Regions from separate parts of the Homo sapiens genome. Here all the other regions are linked to region 3. Evidence: promoter capture Hi-C in human tissues and cell types (Jung and others, 2019). All regions are on one chromosome and are shown on one strand. The core of a region is centred on a gene start or on the middle of the fragment in contact, and the rest is flanking DNA. Distances in the headings are between cores, read along the strand shown.

Evidence for each region. Contacts are between HindIII fragments. The study calls those that stand out against the background at their distance.
Region 1: a contact is called between the fragment with the promoter of WTIP here and the fragment with the promoter of LSM14A in region 3, in 1 of the 25 tissues and cell types used here (small bowel).
Region 2: a fragment that was not itself captured here is called in contact with the fragment with the promoter of LSM14A in region 3 in 1 of the 25 tissues and cell types used here (aorta).

The regions. Positions count from the first base shown.
Region 1 is chr19:34,479,557-34,483,534 of GRCh38, reverse strand. WTIP (WT1 interacting protein) reads right to left here and starts at 1,777. Exons shown (of 8, transcript NM_001080436.2): 1 at 894-1,777. The coding sequence starts at 1,560. RefSeq lists enhancers at 739-1,393, 1,394-2,049, 2,050-2,704. The HindIII fragment of the contact is 21,139 bases long and covers 1-3,978 here.
Region 2 is chr19:33,899,153-33,903,123 of GRCh38, reverse strand. No RefSeq gene overlaps it. Among named protein-coding and RNA genes, the nearest start is that of SUNO1, 3.8 kb to the left of the region's middle. The HindIII fragment of the contact is 3,194 bases long and covers 1-2,910 here.
Region 3 is chr19:34,170,969-34,174,878 of GRCh38, reverse strand. LSM14A (LSM14A mRNA processing body assembly factor) reads right to left here and starts at 2,375. Exons shown (of 10, transcript NM_015578.4): 1 at 2,116-2,375. The coding sequence starts at 2,236. The HindIII fragment of the contact is 14,704 bases long and covers 1-3,910 here.

The sequences.
Region 1 (3,978 bases), core at 528-3,027, 310 kb before region 3:
TCTTCCCTCACACAGTCTCCCTCTCCAGCCGCTACCATCACCAAAGCCTGGGTCAGGCGGTATCCGGTGGTACCTGGGCCACTCCATCTCCCGGTTGCTGTCCACACCCATACCGTGGCGGGGCAGACGGGGAAGCACCCCTTTCTGCTCATCACGAAGCATGAAAGGATCAGATAGAATGAGAGCACCAAACGCAAAGAAGAAAAGATCAGGCCGGGCGCACTGGCTCAAGCCTGTAATCCTAGCACCTTGGGAGGCCGAGGAGGGCGGATCGCTTGAGCCCAGGAGTTTAAGACCAGCCTGGGCAACATAGGGAGACTCTGTCTCTACAAAAAAAAAAAAAAAAAAAAAGTAAGAAGAAGAAAAGCTGGGCATGGTGGTGTGCACCTGTAGTCCCAGCTTCTCGGGAGGCTGAGGCGAGAGGATCGCTTCAGCTTGAGAGGCGACGGCTACAGTAAGCCGAGGACGCGCCGCTGCACTCCAGTCTCGGCGACAGAGGAAGACCCTGTCTCAAAAAAAAAAAAAAAAGAAGAAAGAAAAAAAAAAAAGAAGAAAGAAGAAAAAATTATCAGAAAATGGCTCAGTGTGCCCATGAACCTGACTTGCCTGTTAAGTTAGGAACCGCACATCAACTCACTCGGCCAGAACCCCTCGTGTGTCGGGGGACCCAGAGGCAGGGGTGAAGCCGCTGCTGGGGATCCAGGCGCACTCACTCACCCTTTGCGCTCCCCAGTCCCCAGGGGATGCACCTTCCTCGTCCCAACCCCGTGCACTGCTGCACCCCCAGCCAGCCCCGTGCTCTCCTCCGCTGATCCGGCCGCCTACCCGAGGCAGTCTCGGAACCCCGGACCCCAGCCATGCGCGCAGGGAACTGCCGGGCCGAGCGAGCTCACCGAAGTAGTCCCGCGCCGTGCGCGCCTCGAGCGCCCGCTCCAGCTCCCGGGTGAGCGCCTCCAGCCGCCGCTCGGCCGCGCTTGGGCCGCCCTCCCGGCCAGGGGGCAGCGGGAGTGCAGGCAGCGGGAAGGGAGCCGGCCCCGCAGGCTCCGGGGAGCGAGCGGGCGCGGGGCAGGCGCCGGGCGGGAGGAAGTCAGCGTAGGCGCCGGCCGAGCCCCGGGAGCCGAGGCTGGAAACGCTGGAGCGGGCGCTGCCCACCGAAGGCGGCCCGGGACCGGGACGCGGGTCCGAGCGACCGGAGCGCGGGCTGCCGTGGCGCTGGTCGTAGCCCAGGCTGATGCCGCTGGATCGGGCGCTGCCGCCACCGCCGCCGCCGTCGGACCCCGCCAGGCTGGCCCGTGGGCTGCCCGCAGGCTGCGCGCTGAGCTCCGGAACCGCCGCGCGCCGGGGACCCCGCTCCCCGCGGCTCAGTCCGTCCGCCCCGGCCTCGGGGCCGCCGCTGCCCTTCCCTCTGCGGCCCAGCGCGGGCGCCGCCTCGTCTCCAGGCCCAGGCCGCGGCCCCCGCCGCCCCCGACCGGGAGAGCCGCACCCGGGCTCCAGCTCCCGCAGGGCCAGCCCGGCCAGGAGTAGGGCCGCCTCGTCCGCGCCCGCCCTGGAGCGCTGCATGGCCCGGCCCGCCGGCCCTGGCGCGTCACCTCCGCCTCCGCTTCCCGCCGCCGCTCCGGCCGGGCCGCCGCATCGTCCGCCCGAAGCCCGGAGCCCGCCCCGGGACCCCTGGGCGCGGGGCGGGGCGGGGCCGGCGCCGGGCCGGGGTCGTTCCGGCGGCCACGCGCGGGCCGGGGGACGCGGCGCCCTGCTCGGCGGCGCGCGCGGCGGAGGAATGTAAGCTCCCAGGCGCCGGGCCGCGCCCCCTCCTCGCCGCGGCCTCGCGCGGGGCGGAGGGACTCCTTTGCGGGGGCAGGAATGCGAGGAAGGAGACGGCGCTGCGGCCTCTGGAATGTGGGGGGAGTGGCGGCGGCCGCGCTGCGCCGGGACCTCGGAGGGGCGTGGAGGCCGGGCCAGGACGCAGGGGCGGGCGGCGGAGGCACCGCGGGGAGAGCCCAGGGTCTGCGGGGCGCCCGGGCCGTCGGGCCGCTGGGAAGAGCTCGGATTTCCGCAGGCTGAGCTGGAGGCAGCTGGCGCCATCCGGGCCGGAGAGATCCAAGCAGTCGACAGCTTTCCCCACATCCCGCCCCATCTCCCTTCCCTGCGCCGCCTTGCTCTCCGGCGCTGCAGGGCCGACCCAGCTCAGCTTGGAACCCACGGCGCTTCGCCCGTCCCGCGCCCAGGAATACTGTGCGCCTAGCGCAGATGCGTCCCCACGACCCCCTGCCTGGCCCGGGGCCATGTGGCCGCGCACCGGCCTCTGAAGCCCCCATCTGACTGCTGGGGAAGGCGCCCAGAACTAGGAGCGGGTTGGTTGGGGACTGGTCCTCGCGCTGGGTCGCTTCGCCCAGGCCCCCAAGGCCAGGCTAGAAGCAGGCCTCAGGCTCAGAGCCGGTGGGCGGCGAGCCTCCCCTGTGGCCATCACAGGCAGTCCCCGTGAAATATGGGGACTCCTCCCTTTTCCAGCACCTGCATCCAGGGTGGTGGGTGAGGCTTCGAGGGGAGGTCCTGGAACCAGCGGGGCCATAGGGGCCACATAGGTGGGGAATCGAGAGGTGACTAGGGCTTCGTGCCCAAGGACACAACTAAAATCCCTTGTACAAGTCACACGGCTATAGGGAAGAAAACCAAACCGTTATCTGTCAGGGCCTGATGGATCCAAGAAAAGTGTTGCGTGAGAGAGTACTGTTTTCCAGGCCCTCTCTGCTCAGAGATTTTCGGGAAGGCGCCTACAGTGGCTCAGCGCGCAGGGAGCCCGCACGGGAACTGTCCCGGCCAGACCGCCCAGGGCAGTGTGGCCTCAACACCACTGAGCACCCGCTGGGGCCGCTAACCCCAGCACCTTCCCATAGCCTGCGGAGTTCCAGCCCCTGCCCCACCAGGGTAGGGGAAGTGGAAGCAAGCATTTCGTGTGCGCGGAGGGTGGGGGAGTTGCGCTGTTTTGTTTTTTTCAGACAAGGTGTCGCTCTGTCCCCCAGGCTGGAGTACAGTGGTGTGATCACAGCTCACAGTGATCACACACACCCCAGAGTCTCAACCTCCTGGGCTCAAGCAATCCTCCCACCTCGGACTCCTGAGTACGTAGGAGTACAGGCGCACACCACCACACAAAACGCTGAGATTACAGGCATGAGACTCCGTGCGGGGTCTAGAAGCCAGCATTTGGGAGAGCAAATACCCAGGGAAGCCAGGACATGAAAAATGGTCTACCTTTCAAATGAGAAAGGAAAAGCCAGTTCAGTCATATCACATTTCATGGACTGCATTATCTACTATTTAAAAATTACAATATTGGCAGGACTGTGGTGAAACAGTTGCACATATGCTACTGGTATGAGTGCAAATTGGGATATCCTTTTGGGAAGAGCAGTTTGGCGGTGTCAACATCCGCACAAACGAACACGAAACTTAGAAGCAGTAATACTGCTGCTAAACATCTATTCAAGGGAAGTTATCAAAAATGCAGACAATAATCCAATCACAACCGTGTCGTATAATCCCAACATCATTTAGGTAATCTACAGCGGTCCCCAACCTTTTTGGCACCAGGGACTGGTTTTGTGGAAGACAATTTTTCCACAGACAGGGATGGGGAGGGTGGGAATGGCTTCAGGATGATTCAAGGGCATTATATTTATTGTGCACTTTATTTCTATTATTATTACATTGTAATATATAATGAAATAATTATACAACTCACTATACCATAGAAAGAGTGGGAGCCCTGTGCTTGTTTTCCTGCAACTAGACGGTCCCATCTGGGGGTGATGGGAGACAGTGACAGATCATCAGGCATTAGATTCTCATAAGGAGCACACAGCCTAGGTCCTTCGCATGCGCAGTTCACAATAGGCTTCGTGCTTCTGTGAGAATCGTGGTGGGACTCAGGTGGTAATGCTCCCTCGCCTCTGCTCACCTCCTGCTGTGTGGCCCAGTTCC
Region 2 (3,971 bases), core at 64-2,563, 270 kb after region 3:
TTTTGCCTATTAAACCTCCGCTGTTAACCTCATTTCACATACATCTGGATCCTTGATTTCCTTGGTATGAGGCAATGAACCTCAAGTATTTACCCCAGACAACGAAGCCACTCCACCACCCTGATGCGATCATCCCCTTGTGTATCTACACTGTCCATACCACCTGCCCATTAGTCACTCAATACCCGTCTGGGTTACTACATCCACATTCACGTAACTCTTATTACAGTGCATTGTTGTAATTGTTCTATTTTATTATTAGTTATTGCTGTTAATCTCTTGCTGTGCCTAGTTACTGTTGTTAATCTTTTACTGTGCCTAGTTTATAAATTAAACTTTATCATTCATATATATATATATATATATGAAGAAACATACTCTACAGTATGTAGGGTTTGCTATTGTCCATGATTTCAGGCAGCCACTGGGGGTCTTGGAATATATCCTGGAGGATGGGGGGGGACTCCTGTACTAATTTACATGAAATGAAAACTGCAGGGGAACATGTTAAACAGCACTATGGGGACATAATCAAAACAATCCAGCTCTTGTAAAACCGCAGGATAAACGACCCAGTTCTTCAATAATGAATTGCAAGGAAAATAATCACATTTAGATTCTGAATCAAACAAATGATAAAAAGAAAAAAAAACTAACGTTTTTAGGACACTTGTGAATTTCAATACTGATGGGATATTTGATATTTTAAAAGTCTTCTTAAATTTTTTAGAAACGGTAATATTATGGTGGTATTTTTAAAATTATCTTCTGAAAATACAGGATAAAATATTTAGAGGGAATGATAGGATATCTGGGATTTGTGTGTAAGTAGTTTTAGATGGGGCAAGGGAAGTGTGTGAAGATATAGATGGGAAAATGATGGGGCATTAGTAATGTGTACATGGTGGGTCATTCTGTTATTCTCTATATTTCATATCATGTTTAAATTGTTTTTTCAGAGTGTTCTGAAACTTTTGAACTGCTATTGGAGTCTGGCTGAATTGCCTGGGCTGGGGCTCAGGACAATGGAGACTCAGTGCACTTTGCAGATACCCCTTCTCATGTGTCCCTTCAGCAAATGATATTGAGGACCTTTTGTTTTCTTGAGCTCCTGAAATGATGGAGCTCACACTTGAGATTAGAAAATAATGAAGAAGGCCAGGCGCTATGGCTCACGCTTGTAATCCCAGCACTTTGGGAGGTTGAAGAGGGTGGATCACCTGAGGTCAGGAGTTCAAGACCAGCCTGGCCAACATGATGAAACCCCATCTCTACTAAAAAACACAAAAATTAGCTGGGCATGGTAGCAGATGCCTGTAATCCCAGCTACTAGGGAGGCTGAGGCAGGAGAATCACTTGAACTGGGGAGGTGGAGGTTGCAGTGAGCCGAGATCGTGCCATTGCACTCCAGCCTGGGCGACAGAGTAAGACTCCCTCTAAAACAAAAAAAGAAGAAAAATAAAGAAAATAAATGAATGAAGGATAGAGCCACCAAATGGAAGCAGGGAAGCCTTTGCCGAAGAATGAGTGTTTGATATGAGGACTGGCAGGTGAAAAGGAGTTTTCGGCATGGTGTCTGTTCATCTGTAACATAAGGTGGTTAACGTTAGACTCTATCTACAAGGAGGATCCGTTTAGTCCTAACAGATTCTGTGATTATAGCCTAGCTAAAACCATTTTTTTTCTTCTGTGTGTCTCTCCAAGGAGTTGAGAGGACCAGCCCCCACACCATGTACTTCCTGTCATTGTCCCTTATTTTATTAACTGAAGCAATCTGATTTGAGTGGCTGGTCTTGAATCTCCCACTTGTGTTCAGAGGCCCAAACATTATCATACAATCAGTCCATGGCCTTTTTAGAGGATAGTCTCTAGGGCTCACAGATTCGTTTCTGCTCATTCAGTTCCCAAAGCAGTTCACTAAGCAGCCTTACCTATACTTTCGCTGGTGGCTATGCACAGCCTTGGTAATAAAACCTACTTGTGCTTCAAAACGTGAGTGCCTGCAGTAGATGCCCTCAGCCTTCCCAGCTGTTCTTGTCCAGCATGCAGCCTGGCCTTCAGGTTAACTAGTTCATCCTGATACTCTGCCAGAATGGGTCGAACTTTGTGCTTTGAAGGCCCTTTTCCCCATGTGGCATGAACAACCTGCCAAGATCAAGCTTGCAACAGCTGTAGTTATTTGACAAGTGGCTGGCTGTATCACCTCTCCACTCTGCTGTGCAAAATTATTTGTGTGTGTGTTCTGTTTATTCTTTTCTTCTTCTCAGGGATTTTTTTTTTTTTTTTTTTTTGAGACAGAGTCCCCCTCTGTCACCCAGGTTGGAGCGCAGTGGCACGATCTTGGCTCACTGCAACCTTCACTTCCCGGTTCAAGTGATTCTGTTGCCTCAGCTTCCCAAGTAGCTGGGATTAGAGGCATGCGCCACCATGGCTGGCTAATTTTTTTGTATTTTTAGTAGAGACAGGGTTTTGCCATGTTGGCCAGGCTGGTCTCAAAGTCCTGACCTCAGGTGATCTGCTCGTCTCGGCCTCCCAAAGTGCTGGGATTATAGGCGTGAACCACCACACCCGGCCCATCTTCTCGGTTTTTATGGATGTTTGTACTTTAAAAGGACAATTTCTGAAACTTTTGGATAAGTAAGATGAGAATCTTTAAATGTGATTGCTATATGTTTATTGAATGGGTTTACCTGAGGCATAAACAGAGAGGCAAACACAGTGTCTTCTTAGGGACCTAACAAGCATACTACAAGATGACCCAGAGCCTGACAGAAGGCTGAGAAGGCTAGAAGCATCCCTAATTCTTGCTGCTATAAAACAAACGTATACTTCACTAAGAGAAAAAGTACCGGAAAGTTAACTGGGATGTATTGTATGTTTCCAGTGACTGCTCAAACGCTTCTTATACTAATTTAGTTAGAACAATTTATCTTAACAGAGAACTATAATTTTCCACTCTTTCCAACCAGTTTAACCAACTTATACTTTTTAAACCCACCCAGATGGAATTTATGAATTCAAAGCCAATACCCTAAACCTTAATTTTTATGCTAACCATCATTATAGGTGAGGAATTATGCTAAAGGAACAGTTGAGATCTCTTCTTCTGGCTCTGGAACGCCAGTCTGGATCAAATGAAACTTCCCACCTTAAACAACTGGAACAGTTAGATAATTTTAAAAATCTGTTTTAAAATATCAGAGACTGGCCAGGCATGGTGGCTCATGCTTGTAATCCCAACACTTTGGGAGGCCAAGTGGGGTGGATCATTTGAGTCCAGGAGTTTGAGACCAGCCTGGGCAACATGCTGAAACCCCATCTCTACTAAAAATACAAAAATTAGCTAGACCTGGTGACATGTACCTGTAGTTCCAGCTACTTGGGAGGCTTAAGCAGGAGAATCGCTTGAATCCAGGAGGCAGAGGTTGCAGTGAGCCAAGATAGTGCCACTACACCCTAGCCTGGGCGACAGAATGAGACCTGGCCATGAAAAAAATAAATAAATAAAATCAGAGAGCTATCCAGACAGTGAGGACTTGAGAGGGGAAGATCCTAGAGAAAGGGAAACCTAGAAAGATGAGCCTAACATTTGGCACTGTTCTTCCCCTCCAGGCATTTGCTTCTAGGAGCAGTGATTTAAAGGCTAAGAAGCTGGGCAAAGCTTTGGCAGTCTCAGAAAGGCTCTGGTAATACCCTAGGCTTTTGGTTACAGCCTCTGATCAACTCTCAAAAAAGATTCAGCTTTTATTCAAATCAGATTAAGATGCTCTGCCTCTATACTAACTGCTTGACAAAAGCAAAATAAACTCTCTGGAGAAAGATACCATCATCTACAGCATCACATTGGTTCTACAATTTTTCATACAAAACATGCAGCATTTGTTCAAAATATATGAGGCATATCAGAAGACAAGACCAAATGACTCAAAACCAAGAGAATAAATAGAAAACAGGCTTGGCATGGTGGCTTA
Region 3 (3,910 bases), core at 1,126-3,625:
GCCAACTTATTGAGTCACTAAGCTGGCAAGACACTTTTAAATTCAGATTAGGTAAAGCAATACTTTAAAACAAATTTATTAAACCACTTTAATGAGAAATTATTTTCAACCCATATCTGGCTCTCACCCAGCACTTTTCATAATTTCATAAAGAGAGGCTTTTTCATAATTTCAAAAAGCCAGAAAAACACTATACAGCTAAGTAACTATTGTATAAAAAATATAAAAATAAATTCAAAATAAGGCCAAGCAAAAACTAAGTTACTTAAGAAGCATCACTGGGAAAGTCTTTAATAAACACCAAATACCATCCATCATACATCCTATAGCCGATTTCTAACCGCCAAGTCTACAGGTGTTTTAATGAGGTAATGTGTCACTGCATAATGTTTCACAAGGTGAAGAGGGAAATGTGGGGGTACTCCCTGGTTTTTCATACTACTTTTAAAATTAGACTTGGTGATTTTAAAAAGTGTATAATTCAATGATCTTCAGCAAATTTGCAGAGTTGTGCAACTATCACCATCTCATACTACTCCTTTATGGTGTACAGTTCTGTAACATCAAAAGGTTCCCTACCCAGGTATAAGATTTGTCCCAACACCAGGGCTATTAAAAAGATTTACCAGAGGCTGGGCGCGGTGGCTCATGCCTGTAATCCCAGCACTTTGGGTGGCCGAGGCGGGTGGATCACCTGAGGTCAGGAGTTCGAGACCAGCCTGGCCAACATGGTGAAACCCCGTCTCTACTAAAAATACCAAATTAGCTAGGGGTGGTGGCAGGCGCCTATAATCCCAGCTACTTGGGAGGCTGAGGCAGGAGAATCACTTGAACCCGGGAGGCGGACGTTGCAGTGAGCCGAAATCATTGCCTTTGCACTCCAGCCTGAGCAAAAAGAGCTAAACTCCATCTTAGAAAAATAAATAAATAAATAAATAAATAAAGGATTTACCAGAGCATCCAAGAAATATTATTAAATACTTGATCCCGTGAAACCACTCCCCTATCTGTTAACGATTTTTAAAATTTTACAGATTTCGAAAATCTTCTTCTTTATCCTTGGACCTAACCTATCCACAGGGTCCCTAACCATGCTATGCAGTTCCCACCTCTACCAGAAGTGCTGGGAAAATCACCTAGGTTATCTAGCTTCCCTCAAAGTATTTTACACTGTTGTGAGATTTCCTTTAAGATTCAGGAGCTAAAGTTTATTTTCTTTCTGGTTTCCTGGCGGAGCAAAGGCCCTGCACGTGTGAACGGAAACAAAACCCACACAGACTCTAGGGATGCCAAATATTAACACTGTGGGTAGGGGCACCTTCCTTCTCGGCCGAATTCCCTTTCCCAGAGAGCCTCCAGAGGGATCAGTCAACGCCCACTGAGCCTGGATCAAAGGTCAAGCTTGCCTGGTCAAGAAGGATCCTGGATCAAGCTTGAACCCGTTTCCAGAAACAGGGGCGTCGGGGCAGCAGCAAGCATTTTTACCACGCGCCCTAATGAGGTGGTTGCACAACAGGCTTTGAGGATTCCGGTTTAACAGGTAAATACCAACAGAGGATGAGCCGAGGGAGATGGGATCTGCTCCACGGCATCGATGGCATTTCGAGAATGTCTGCGTCGCAGAGCAAACCCAAAGTTTTAGCACATTACTCAAGAGTTCACCAGAGGAAGATCGCCACGAATTGAAATGAACAAAGTGAGAAAATGGGTGCTGTGTAGTCAACGCATCCGCGATGAACTCAAGCTGGGCGGAAAAATTCTTTGAATACTCCGGCTTTGTTTTGTGCTAAGACGGCAGAAGCCCCGAATTTCGGAGTTGGAAGACGCGTTTCTCCGTGTTCTCCGGCCCGTTCTCGGACTTCAGGGCCGCCCGCCGCGCACTCAGTCCCGTAGTTCCCCGGGCTTCAGGCGCGGACATTCCGGGGGGCGGAAACCAGGGAGCCGCGGGGAGGCCGCGGTCCGGCCCGCGACGCCGGGGCCCGGAGAAGGGAGGCGAGAGGCCTCCCGGAGCTCGACGGAGGGAGGGGAGGGAACGAGGAGGCCGCGGGCCGGAGCGGGGAGCAGCCCCGAGCGGCGCCCGGCTCGGCCCCCACCCTGAGGCCCGGTCCCGCGTACCTTTGGCAAGGGCTACGGTGGAGTTTTCGGTGTCGATGGTGTAGAGGATGCCCTCGTAGCGGATCTCCGCCTTGGAGATGAGGCTGATCTTGCTGCCGATGTAAGGGGTGCCCCCGCTCATGGCGCCGCCGCCGCCGCTCCCAGCTGCTCGCAGAGAGGCAGATCCCACGCCACTGTCGCCCGCTCCGCACGCCCGCTCGCTCCGTCGGCGCCTACAGCAGCCGCTTCAGACCCAACATGGCGGCGGCGCCGGCTCCGCTACCCTCCCCCAGCCTCCCGCCCTCAAGCCGCGGCGCGGCGGCGGCGGCGGCGGCGGCAGCGGCGGCGGCGCGGGGCATGCTGGGAGGGCGAGGCCGCGCTCTCGCGAGACTTGGCCGGCTACTGGTGGCTCCCGGCTCATTCGTGGCCTCGGGAGTCCCGGCAGCGCTTGTTGGCCTGGACTACGGTGGTGGTCTTGGGGCCGCGTGAGAGGAACTTCGGGGACCGGCTGAGTGCCTCGTGGCACCCGCTTGCTGCGGGCTGGAGAGGAGGCGCGCGGCCTTCCTTTTGACTCAGGCCGTGGCCGCCTTGTCGTGGGTCCTGTGTCTTTGCCGACGCGGGGCCCTCGGCCTGGAGCGCTGCCCACCCGCCTCCGAGCTGTGGCGAGCCGCTGCTCATCCTTCTAAGACGCTGAACCTGCACCTCGTGGAGCTCCTACGGCTCCATTACCGCAGTCATCGCCCGGGGAGCTTCCCCCGAGGCTGCCCCTGGAGCTGGGGCTCTCACAAGGACTCAAGTGTTTCAGCCCCTTCCTGTCCCGCTCATTCAGCCGGTCTGAACCAGTTTCATGGCTTGCAACGCCATTGTAACTCACTAATCCCAATTATCAGTATGTAGCTTGGATCAATTCCGTGAACCAGGGTTTCTGTCGAATCTCAAACGTTAAGGGTCCAAAGCCATGCTCCCTGTTTCCCCTCTAACCTGCTCCTTCACCACCGTTCCCTATTTGATGTAAACGGTACCATTTTTACTCAGCTGCTCAGACTAAAAGCCGTGAGTCAGCCTTGCCCTGTCTTGCTTCCACATCTGTTCTGACTACACCTCTCCGTTATGTATACACAATATATCCTAAATCTGACTTCTCATCTCCATTCCTACACTTCTCCCACAAGCCACGATTACTCGGGCTGAATTATTGCAGTAGCCTTCTAAAAGTTGCCTCTGTGTCAACTCTTGCCCCCAGTACTTTATTCTCAATACAGCAGCCAGAGAGATCTTCTTAAAATCTAACTCAGGGCTGGGCGCAGTGGCTCACGCCTGTACTCCCAGTACTTTGGGGGCCCGAGGCGGGCGCATCACCGGTCAGGAGTTCGAGACCAGCCTGGCCAACATGGTGAAACCCCGTCTCTACTAAAAATATAAAAAAATTAGCCAGGCGTGGTGGCGCGCGCCTATAGTCTCAGCTACTTGGGAGGCTGAGGCAGGAGAATTGCTTGAACCCAGGAGGCGGAGGTTGTGGTGAGCCGAGATTGTGCCACTGCACTCCAGCCTGGGCGACAGAGCGAGACTCCGTCTCAAAAAAAAAAAAAAAAATCTAACTCAGATCATGTCCTTCCTCTACTCACTCTACTGATCCCATGTTACACAGAGAGAAAACCAGACTTTGGTGTCTAAGGATATACATGATTTAGCTTCTCGTTCTGTTCCAGTCGCGTCTAATTCAACCAGTACTTGAGCACTTTATTCCAGTCTCTGCTCAAGCATCACCTCCAGAGATGACGTCCCTGACAGCCTTGTTTAAAATAATACCACTCAT